Regions from separate parts of the Homo sapiens genome. Here all the other regions are linked to region 3. The links are contacts of gene promoters, found by promoter capture Hi-C in human tissues and cell types (Jung and others, 2019). All regions are on one chromosome and are shown on one strand. The core of a region is centred on a gene start or on the middle of the fragment in contact, and the rest is flanking DNA. Distances in the headings are between cores, read along the strand shown.

What was found. Contacts are between HindIII fragments. The study calls those that stand out against the background at their distance.
Region 1: a contact is called between a fragment that was not itself captured here and the fragment with the promoter of THAP10 in region 3, in 2 of the 25 tissues and cell types used here (H1 embryonic stem cells and aorta).
Region 2: a contact is called between a fragment that was not itself captured here and the fragment with the promoter of THAP10 in region 3, in 2 of the 25 tissues and cell types used here (dorsolateral prefrontal cortex and hippocampus).

The regions. Positions count from the first base shown.
Region 1 is chr15:71,085,690-71,088,394 of GRCh38, forward strand. All of the region lies in intron 3 of LOC105370886 (a long non-coding RNA gene), which reads right to left. Among named protein-coding and RNA genes, the nearest start is that of THSD4, 28 kb to the right of the region's middle. RefSeq lists an enhancer at 1-484. The HindIII fragment of the contact is 3,201 bases long and covers 1-2,705 here.
Region 2 is chr15:70,682,618-70,685,438 of GRCh38, forward strand. UACA (uveal autoantigen with coiled-coil domains and ankyrin repeats) reads right to left here. Exons shown (of 19, transcript NM_018003.4): 8 at 1,648-1,829; 9 at 141-178. Among named protein-coding and RNA genes, the nearest start is that of SALRNA2, 49 kb to the left of the region's middle. The HindIII fragment of the contact is 3,042 bases long and covers 1-2,771 here.
Region 3 is chr15:70,891,139-70,893,838 of GRCh38, forward strand. It overlaps THAP10 (THAP domain containing 10), which reads right to left and starts at 1,295. Exons shown (of 3, transcript NM_020147.4): 1 at 706-1,295. The coding sequence starts at 1,134. LRRC49 (leucine rich repeat containing 49) reads left to right here and starts at 1,688. Exons shown (of 16, transcript NM_017691.5): 1 at 1,688-1,804; 2 at 2,446-2,502. The coding sequence starts at 1,757. RefSeq lists an enhancer at 950-1,648. The HindIII fragment of the contact is 16,576 bases long and covers 1-2,700 here.

The DNA.
Region 1 (2,705 bases), core at 75-2,574, 190 kb after region 3:
AGACAAGAGAAGAGTGTTTTGATCTATCTGTGGTAGAGGCTGGGGACTCCACGGGTGTTTTCATTTCCCCTCCTAAGCCAGTGGGAGGGCGATTGAACAGCTGGCCTCTGCTACAGTTCAGGATTGACTCCCTTAGCAAGGCTTTCCTAAGTGTGCCTTTCTGCTTGAGTTCTTTCTAGATTCCAAGCAGACATAGTTCTACCTGGTTTCCACAGAGTCTTTCTTTAGATATGCTAATGTAATCAATTAACTAACGCAGAGCCTTGCTGTGTCCTGTGAGCCTCCATTTCTGTAAGGTCTGTAACCTGCTGTGTTAATTGTGCTCTCAAGGCAACTTGATCCACGTCCTGGGGGCACTCCTCACTTGTGGTCCCTTCCCCAAGCTGCAATTACCACCTTGTATGCAGAATTGCTTTGAAGCATGGTATTCTTTCTGGACCATCCCACAGAGAAAAGCAAGATTTTAGCTTGTATGTGCTGCCCGGGGTCTCAGAAATCAACTTGCTATGTACCCAGTTCTGGGTTCCCAGACAGCCACTGTGATGTGAAGGCTTCCTGGCAGGGTGGGTCTATTTCTTCACCCTCACCCCCTTCTGCAGACATAGCAGACATCAATGGGGAGATGAGAAGAAGGCAGAGGAGTTGTGCTAAGAGGAGGACATTCTTGAAAATCTGAAAGATTTCATTATCTTATAGAACTTTGGCTTTTAGAGCTGCTTTTCTAAATTTCCTCCTCTACCTTCCTGTGTCTGCAGCCCCCATTTACTCATCTTTAAATGAAAGCAGGACATGGTTCTGACAGCCCCCATAGAAGGCCAAAGAGATGTGAGACTCCTGAGTGGGGAGCTAAGGGGAGTGAGGGAGCAGGAGTATCCAGGTGAGCACAGGAAGTGGTGAGGGTAGGAAAGAAAGAGTGTCCATGGGTGACACAGCTCCCAGGGGACAAGGGAAGGGTATGTGAAATTCCCAAGGGCTTTTCAGAACAAAGTCTTATCATCCTACTGTGCGGTGGAGTTAGATCAAGGGACTCCTTATGCTTTTTGGCCCAATGTGGGCCTTTGTGGGTTGTTATAGGTGGGTTGTTATAAGTAGCTTCAGGTCCAAAGTGAGAAACTAGTCAACATACTCTCCTGCCTCTGTGTGACTGATAGGCAGAGAGTAAGACTCTTGAGTAATGTACTGACCATTCTTCCAACATTACAAGCATAGCAGGAAAATCCCACAATTCCCACTGCAGGAAGTGCTAGATCACCAGGGGAATATACTAAAACTCCAGACTTCCAAGATGGAAGCCTCCACTCATTGTTAACTTCAAAAGTCTTTTTATCAAATTCTTTGAAATGAATGAAAACAATCTTCCAAAATCTCTGGGACGAGGCAAAAGCAGTTGTTAAGAGGGAAGTTTATAGCACTGAATGCCTACATCAAGAAAATAGAAAGATCTCAAATTAATGATCTAACATTACATTACACATAAATGAACTAGAAAAACAAAGAACAAGCTAATCTCAAAACTAGCAGAAGAAAAGAAATAACTAAAATAGAACAGAACTAAACAAAATTAAGACCCATCCTAAAACATACAAAGGATCCACAAAATGAAGAGTTGGTTTTTTGAAAAGAAAGAAAGAAAGAGAGAGAGAAAGACAGAAAGAAAGAAAGAAAGAAAGAAAGAAAGAAAGAAAGAAAGAAAGAAAGAAAGAAAGAAAGCAAAAAGAAAGACCCAAATGAGCACAATCAGAAATGACAAAGGTGACATTACAAATGATCCCACAGAAATACTAAAGATCCTGAGAGACTATTAGGAACGCCTATATGCACACAAACTAGAAAACCTAGAGAAAATGGATAAATTCCTGGAAGCACACAACCTGCCAAGATTGAATCAGGAAGAAAATGAAACTCTGAACAGACCATTAATATGTTCTGAAATTGAATCAGTAATAAAAAACCTACCAACCCATAAAAGTACTGGGCTAGACAGATTCATAGCCAAATTCTACCAGACATACAAAGAAGAACTGGTACCAGTCCTACTGAAACTATCCTGAAAGACTGAGGAGGAAGGATTCTACCCTAACTCATTCTAGGAAACCAGTATTATCCTGATACCAAAATCTGACAAAGACACAGTGAAAAAAGAAAACTACAGGCCAATATCCCTGACGAACATAGACATGAAAATCCTCAACAAAATCCTAGAAAACCAAACCCAGCAGCATATCAAAAACTATTTCACCACAATCAGTAAGCTTTATTCCTGGGATACAAGGTTGGTTCAGCATACGGAAATCAATAAATGGATTCACCACCTAAGCAGAATTAACAAAAACCATGTGACCATTTCAGTAGATGTAGAAAAAGCTTTAGGCGAAATCCAATATCCCTTCGTGATAAAAACCCTCAACAAACTAGGAATTGAAGGAACATATCTAAAAATAATAAGAGTCATTTATGATAAACCCACAGCCAACATCATACTGAATGTACAAAAGCTGGAAACATTCCCCTTGAGAAATGAAAAAAAGACAAGGATGCCCATTCTTACTTCTATACAACATAGTAGTGGAAGTCCTGGCCAGAGCAATCAGGCAAGAGAAAGAAATAAAAGGCATTCAGATAGGAATAGAGGAAGTCAAACTGTCTTCATTCACAGGCAATATAATTTTATACCTGGAAAACCCCATAGACTCCACCAGAAGGTC
Region 2 (2,821 bases), core at 1-2,500, 210 kb before region 3:
TCTACACGGGCTTGATTAACTGAGAAGAGAGATAGAACGCATTTAAACTCAGAATAGTTATGCTAACTATTAACTAGTTTTACTAAGCACTTTAAACTATACAATACATATAATTATTTAAAATTAAAATTAATATCTACCTGTTGCAAAGATGGCCCTTTCTTCCAAAGTTCTCTCCCTAAGATTTAGAGAAAAAGAGAAACAACAAAATGGCAGGTTAACTTGGGGTAGGTACGCATTCCCTAACTATACAATTGAGTCAATATTAAATAAATAAACTTTAGAGTTTCCTCTAAAGCTTACAACTTTTTAGTTTTATTTCTAAAACGTATGCTTGAAACAATAATGACATCTCACTTTTGCCTATCAAATTAGCAAAATTTTTATAACAATATTCAAGTAGGTAAGATTAAAGACTAAGGATTGGAGGCAGGTAAAAAATGGGAAATTTATTTAGGCTGGGTATGGTGGCTCACACCTGTAATCCCAGCACTTTGGGAGGCTGGGGCAGGAGGATCACTTGAGGCTAGGAGTTCAAGACCAGCCTGGGCAACATAGCAAGACCCCATCTCTACAAAAAAAATATAAAAAATTAGCTGGCCATGGTGGTACATGCCTGTAGTCCCAGCTACTCATGAGGCTGAGGCAGGAAGATAACTTGAGCCCAGGAGTTTGAGATTGCAGTGAGCTATGATGGCACCACTATACTCTAGCCTGGGCAACAAAGGGAGACCCCATATCTAAAAAAAAAGAGGGGAAGAAAATTTAAAAAGCTCCTAAATTCGAAGGCAATTTGCCAACATAGACCAAAGGCTTAAAGAAATGTGCATGCCCTGAAACTCAGTGATTCAATTTCTAGGAACCGACCCTAAAGGGTAATAAAAATATACTAAAATATTTATGCATAAGGACAGTCATAACCTTTGTGTATTAATGAATAATTATAAATAGCTTAAACACTACATGTAGAAAACTGCTTTATTAAATGAAACTTAAATAAATGGAATCTCATACACCAACAAAAATCATACTATAGAAAAACTATTTTTGAGGGAAAGGCCTTCAAAATAGGTTACATAAAAAAGTAAGCTACAATTCAGATTTACAGTGAATTCAATTTAATGGGAAAAGACTAGAAGGATATTTCTCAAAATGTTAACAGAGGCTTCTCAGTGGTAATGAGTGACTATTCATTGTGCTTTTCTGTATGTTCCTGTTTTTTTTAAAAAAAACATAAAAAATCATGGCATAGGCATTTGGTAAATATCAGCTGACTATTTTACATACATGTTTAAACAATGATTCTTTAAAACTTCGTAAGTATAAAAAGTTGGGAGGTTCACCCCTCTTCATCAAAAAAAAAAAAAAACTTAGTAAAACACTTGACTCTTCCTTCTCAGTTCTGAAGTTATTCCAGTGTCTTAGTGTTCACTGGATAAACTAGATTATATATGCAACACACACTGCCTCAAAGCAAGTGACCATAATGTAAGTAAGCAAATCCATGTTGTAGAGGGAGATGAACCAATACTGTTTATCAGTAAGGAATGTTTTGCTTCTTATAAACTGTAGTTCTACTACCTAAGTCTTTTAAAAAGTGGCTCTTTGTTAATGTGGACTTTTCTAGTTACAGAAAACTGCTGATACCTTTGTTGGTATTTTCCGATGCAGTCTTCAACAAGGTTAGAATGTCCAGATTGTCACCAATTCTTGCATAGTAAGAACTATCATGGCCAAGCGCATCCAGCAAGCTTATATCAGCACCATTTTTAATTAAGACTTCTACTGCATCTCTGCAACCATATTCGCAACCTAGCATGAGGGCAGTTCTAAATGGAAAAATGGAAGAGCAAAAGACTGAGAAAACTCCAAGGAAATATTGCAGAAATATTCTGCCCTATTGTTGAACACTGTCTTAGTGTTCACTGGATAAACTAGATTATATATGCAACACACACTGCCTCAAAGCAAGTGACTATAATGTAAGTAAGCAAATCCATGTTGTAGAGGGAGATGAACCAATACTGTTTATCAGTAAGGAATGTTTTGCTTCTTATAAACTGTAGTTCTACTTGAACACTAAGTTCAAGTAAGTGTTCAACACTACTTGAACACTTACTTGAACACTAAGACATGCTCCCTTCTTGAAGAATAGACACTACTTTAAGAAGTCATGCCTGTTACAGATATAGATTTTACTTTATATTCATTGCATTTATAAAAACATTTGCTTTGTCTTCTATATCCTTATATCCTTTAATTACTTCTACTACCAAACCAACCTCATTTATTCCACTTCTTCAATGTCCTACACGTAAATAATCACCACAAAAATTTTCCACAACTGATACTGTCACCCCATGTGATCAAAACCCAACTTTTTCAGTCCCTTCATGAACTGAACCACATCATGCAAACCTCCCCTAAGAATCCCTTCTCCTCCAAGAGAAGTATCAGATTCCATTCCTGATGTTCCTGCTTAGAAGAACCTTGATTCTTCTACCTGAAGACCTTCACATCTTCAGACTACAACTAACGCCATGCAACATGGATCATTGCTTTATTCTATTGCAATAGAACCACTGGCACTCAAACATCTCACAGTACATCAGCAAATACTAATCATGCAACAAAATAATTGTCATGAAAATCTAGAAGGACCCTAGAAATTATTTTGTCTAATCCTCTATTTTTTAGGATGGGGCTAACCAACACGTAATGAAATGAAATGACATATCCTATATCTAACTCTGTCTTCAATTGTGAATATTGGATCTCTTAAGGAAACTGACTCTTGCCTTTTCTCTGCTATGTATGCTGT
Region 3 (2,700 bases), core at 45-2,544:
CACAAGGAAGGCTGGAAAGTTTTCTTTAAAATGGTACGTGGGGAAGAAGGTAGTAGTAACCAGATGCAAAATGAGTGCAAACAATGTTTAGAAGGAACAGAAAAGTAGGCAGAAGAGAGCAAGATGGGGAAAGTCAGCTCACTAGGGATACTGAACTTAAAGGCAGCTGGAGCTAGTTATCAGTCATAAAGGAAGCTTGGGGTGGGAAGGGATTTATTAGCAAGCTCCATCATCTTCATCTGTAGCTCCACATCTCCTTCGCCCCATCATTTGTGACACAAATAAGGGACTTTCCTCAAGCTTATGTAATGTTATGCAACACAGTTTCAAGCACTCCAATCCTGGAGATTTGCTCAAATTAAACCCTTTCTATTTAAAAACTCTGGAGCAGCGAGTGAAAGCAACTCACTACTCTGCAGGACAAGACTCTGTGTGTGTGTGTGTGTGTGTGTGTGTGTGTGTGTGTGTGTGTGTGTGTGTGAGTTTTGGGGGAGGAGCAGTTAGAAGGAATTAACTGGGTCACTTAATTCCAAAGTGTTAATGATAAGTGGGACCTTGGAGATCACCTCTAAAGCACACCCCTAACTTTGCAGATTAGAAAACAGGAACTTTCGAGATGAGGTGCCTTTCCCAAGGTGACACTAAGTGGAGGAGCCCAGCCAGAGTCCAGGGGTCCTTACACAACCTTCGGTGGTCTCTCTTTACCTGTGAAGCTGCAGCCTGCTTCCCAGCTCGGGGGCGTGTACAGGAGACTGGACCTGGGGCAGCCTCAGAATGCCTGGCTGCCTGGAGCTCTCCTCGCGTGTCCAGGCGGCCTGCTTGGTCTCCCTCCTCTCCCCTCTTAGGTGCCGGGGCGGGCACCCGGTGCAGGGTGGGCACGGCGCCTGCCACCAGCCTCAGGCGCTGGGAGAAGCGCAGGTTCTTCTGGATAACCGAAGAGACGTCAAAACAGGCTGGGGCAAAGTGGTCAGAGCAGATGACCGAGCGGTCATTGCCTCCGTACCAGTCGGCGCGGCAACCCCGCACGAAGCGGTCCCAGAGCAGCCGCACGGCCCGGTCCTTGGGAAAGCGGAACAGCGACTTCCCAGACTTGGTGGTGTTGCCGCAGTGGGCGGCCACACAACGGGCCGGCATGGCGGCCGTCTTCGGTGCGCGGGAGCCGGGTTCCCTGGACCTTCGCCCTTGGGCACGCTCCTCGCAGCGGCCTCGGCGAGGCAAGTCCTCCCCTCCTCACCTGTCCACTCCGGGTCGGGATTGTTTCCTTCCCTACCTCTGGTCACCGGAAGTGGCGATCTGGGGCCCCCAATGGGAGGGCTCTTTGATATCTTCCTCCTCCTCCTCCCTGCGCTGCTCCCCAGGAGCCAGTGGACACAAGCAGAGGGATACAAATTTCGCGCGGGCAGCGCTGAGGTGGGCCGTAAAGAGGAACGGACCGGAAGTGGTGGTGGTTATAGCAACCAGTGTGGCCAGCCTCTTCCCCAGCTTATCCTCCTCCCAATACTCCCGCTCTGTTTTTATGAGGCTGGGAAAATAGAACGAGGAAGTGGTGACGCACTGGGCTCTCACGAATACAACTAGAAGCTGCAACGACTGTGTGGCTCTATCGATTCGGGAGAGGTCCAGACCGGAAATGGTCGTTTCCATGGTAACCCTGAGCAGGTTGCCTGGGAGATGACCTCTTTCGGGTCTCTTTGAATCTCCGCTGTAGCGTCACCTGGAAGGCAGATCTAACAGAGAACCTGGACTGTCTCCTATCATGATTCCCGGGAAATATCGCTCTGTTTCTGGCCGGGCTGCGAACAACGTAAGTTGGGCCTTCTACTTTCTCTTTCTTCCCACTGGTACTCTTTCTGACTGGCGTCTTTGTCCTAGGAGATGGGCTGTATTATTAGGACCGGCACCGCTGGGTCTACTCAAGCTATTGTCTGACCAGGGTTTGAGGTTCGTGGGCTGGACCAAGGCACAATTTAATATTGTATGATGGGTACTCAAAGTCTTGTCCAGGATCTGGGCTCCCCAGAAGGTGGAGCTGGTCTGCTGTGAAAGGCTTGGGTTTATTTAAATTCCTTTGGCCAGTCAATTCCTTTTTCTTTTCTTTTCCTTTTAACTGTGAAGAGAATTTATCATTAGGGACTCCCACCTCCTTCACCTGTCTCATTGAGATGTTTATTTAGACCTGAATGGCAAATGTCGAAAGCCTGAGGTACTAACTAGAGGGTTAAATTGCTGCCGACATTTTGGAAAATAAATCAGTGAAACCTTTTAATTCTTAGATGTGATTTTATTGTTTTCAGCAAATCCTCAGAACAAGATCATTTACCAGAAACAGAAATAGAGCATTGTGTTCTATTTTTTTGTTGTATTTCTGTTTGTACCTTTTTTTTTTTTGGAAATATGTGTTTGTGTATTAAGAGCAAATTTTATGGTTTAATTTTTACATTTCAGGTGAACTGCGGGCTTCATCTGGTTATTCAAACATCATCGCTTCCTGAAAAAAACAAAGTAAGATTTAAGAAGGTTGGCATTTAAATTGAAGATTGTTTTAAATTCTACACAAATAGCAGCATGACTTAAAGTGTAGATAGATTCTAAACTGAAAAATTTAAGTAGATTTGCTTTGATTTCCAGTTTAAAGCTAGTTCTTACTTTCTGCCTACATAAAGCTAAAATAGCCCTCTTTAAAAAACTTAATGTGATTTT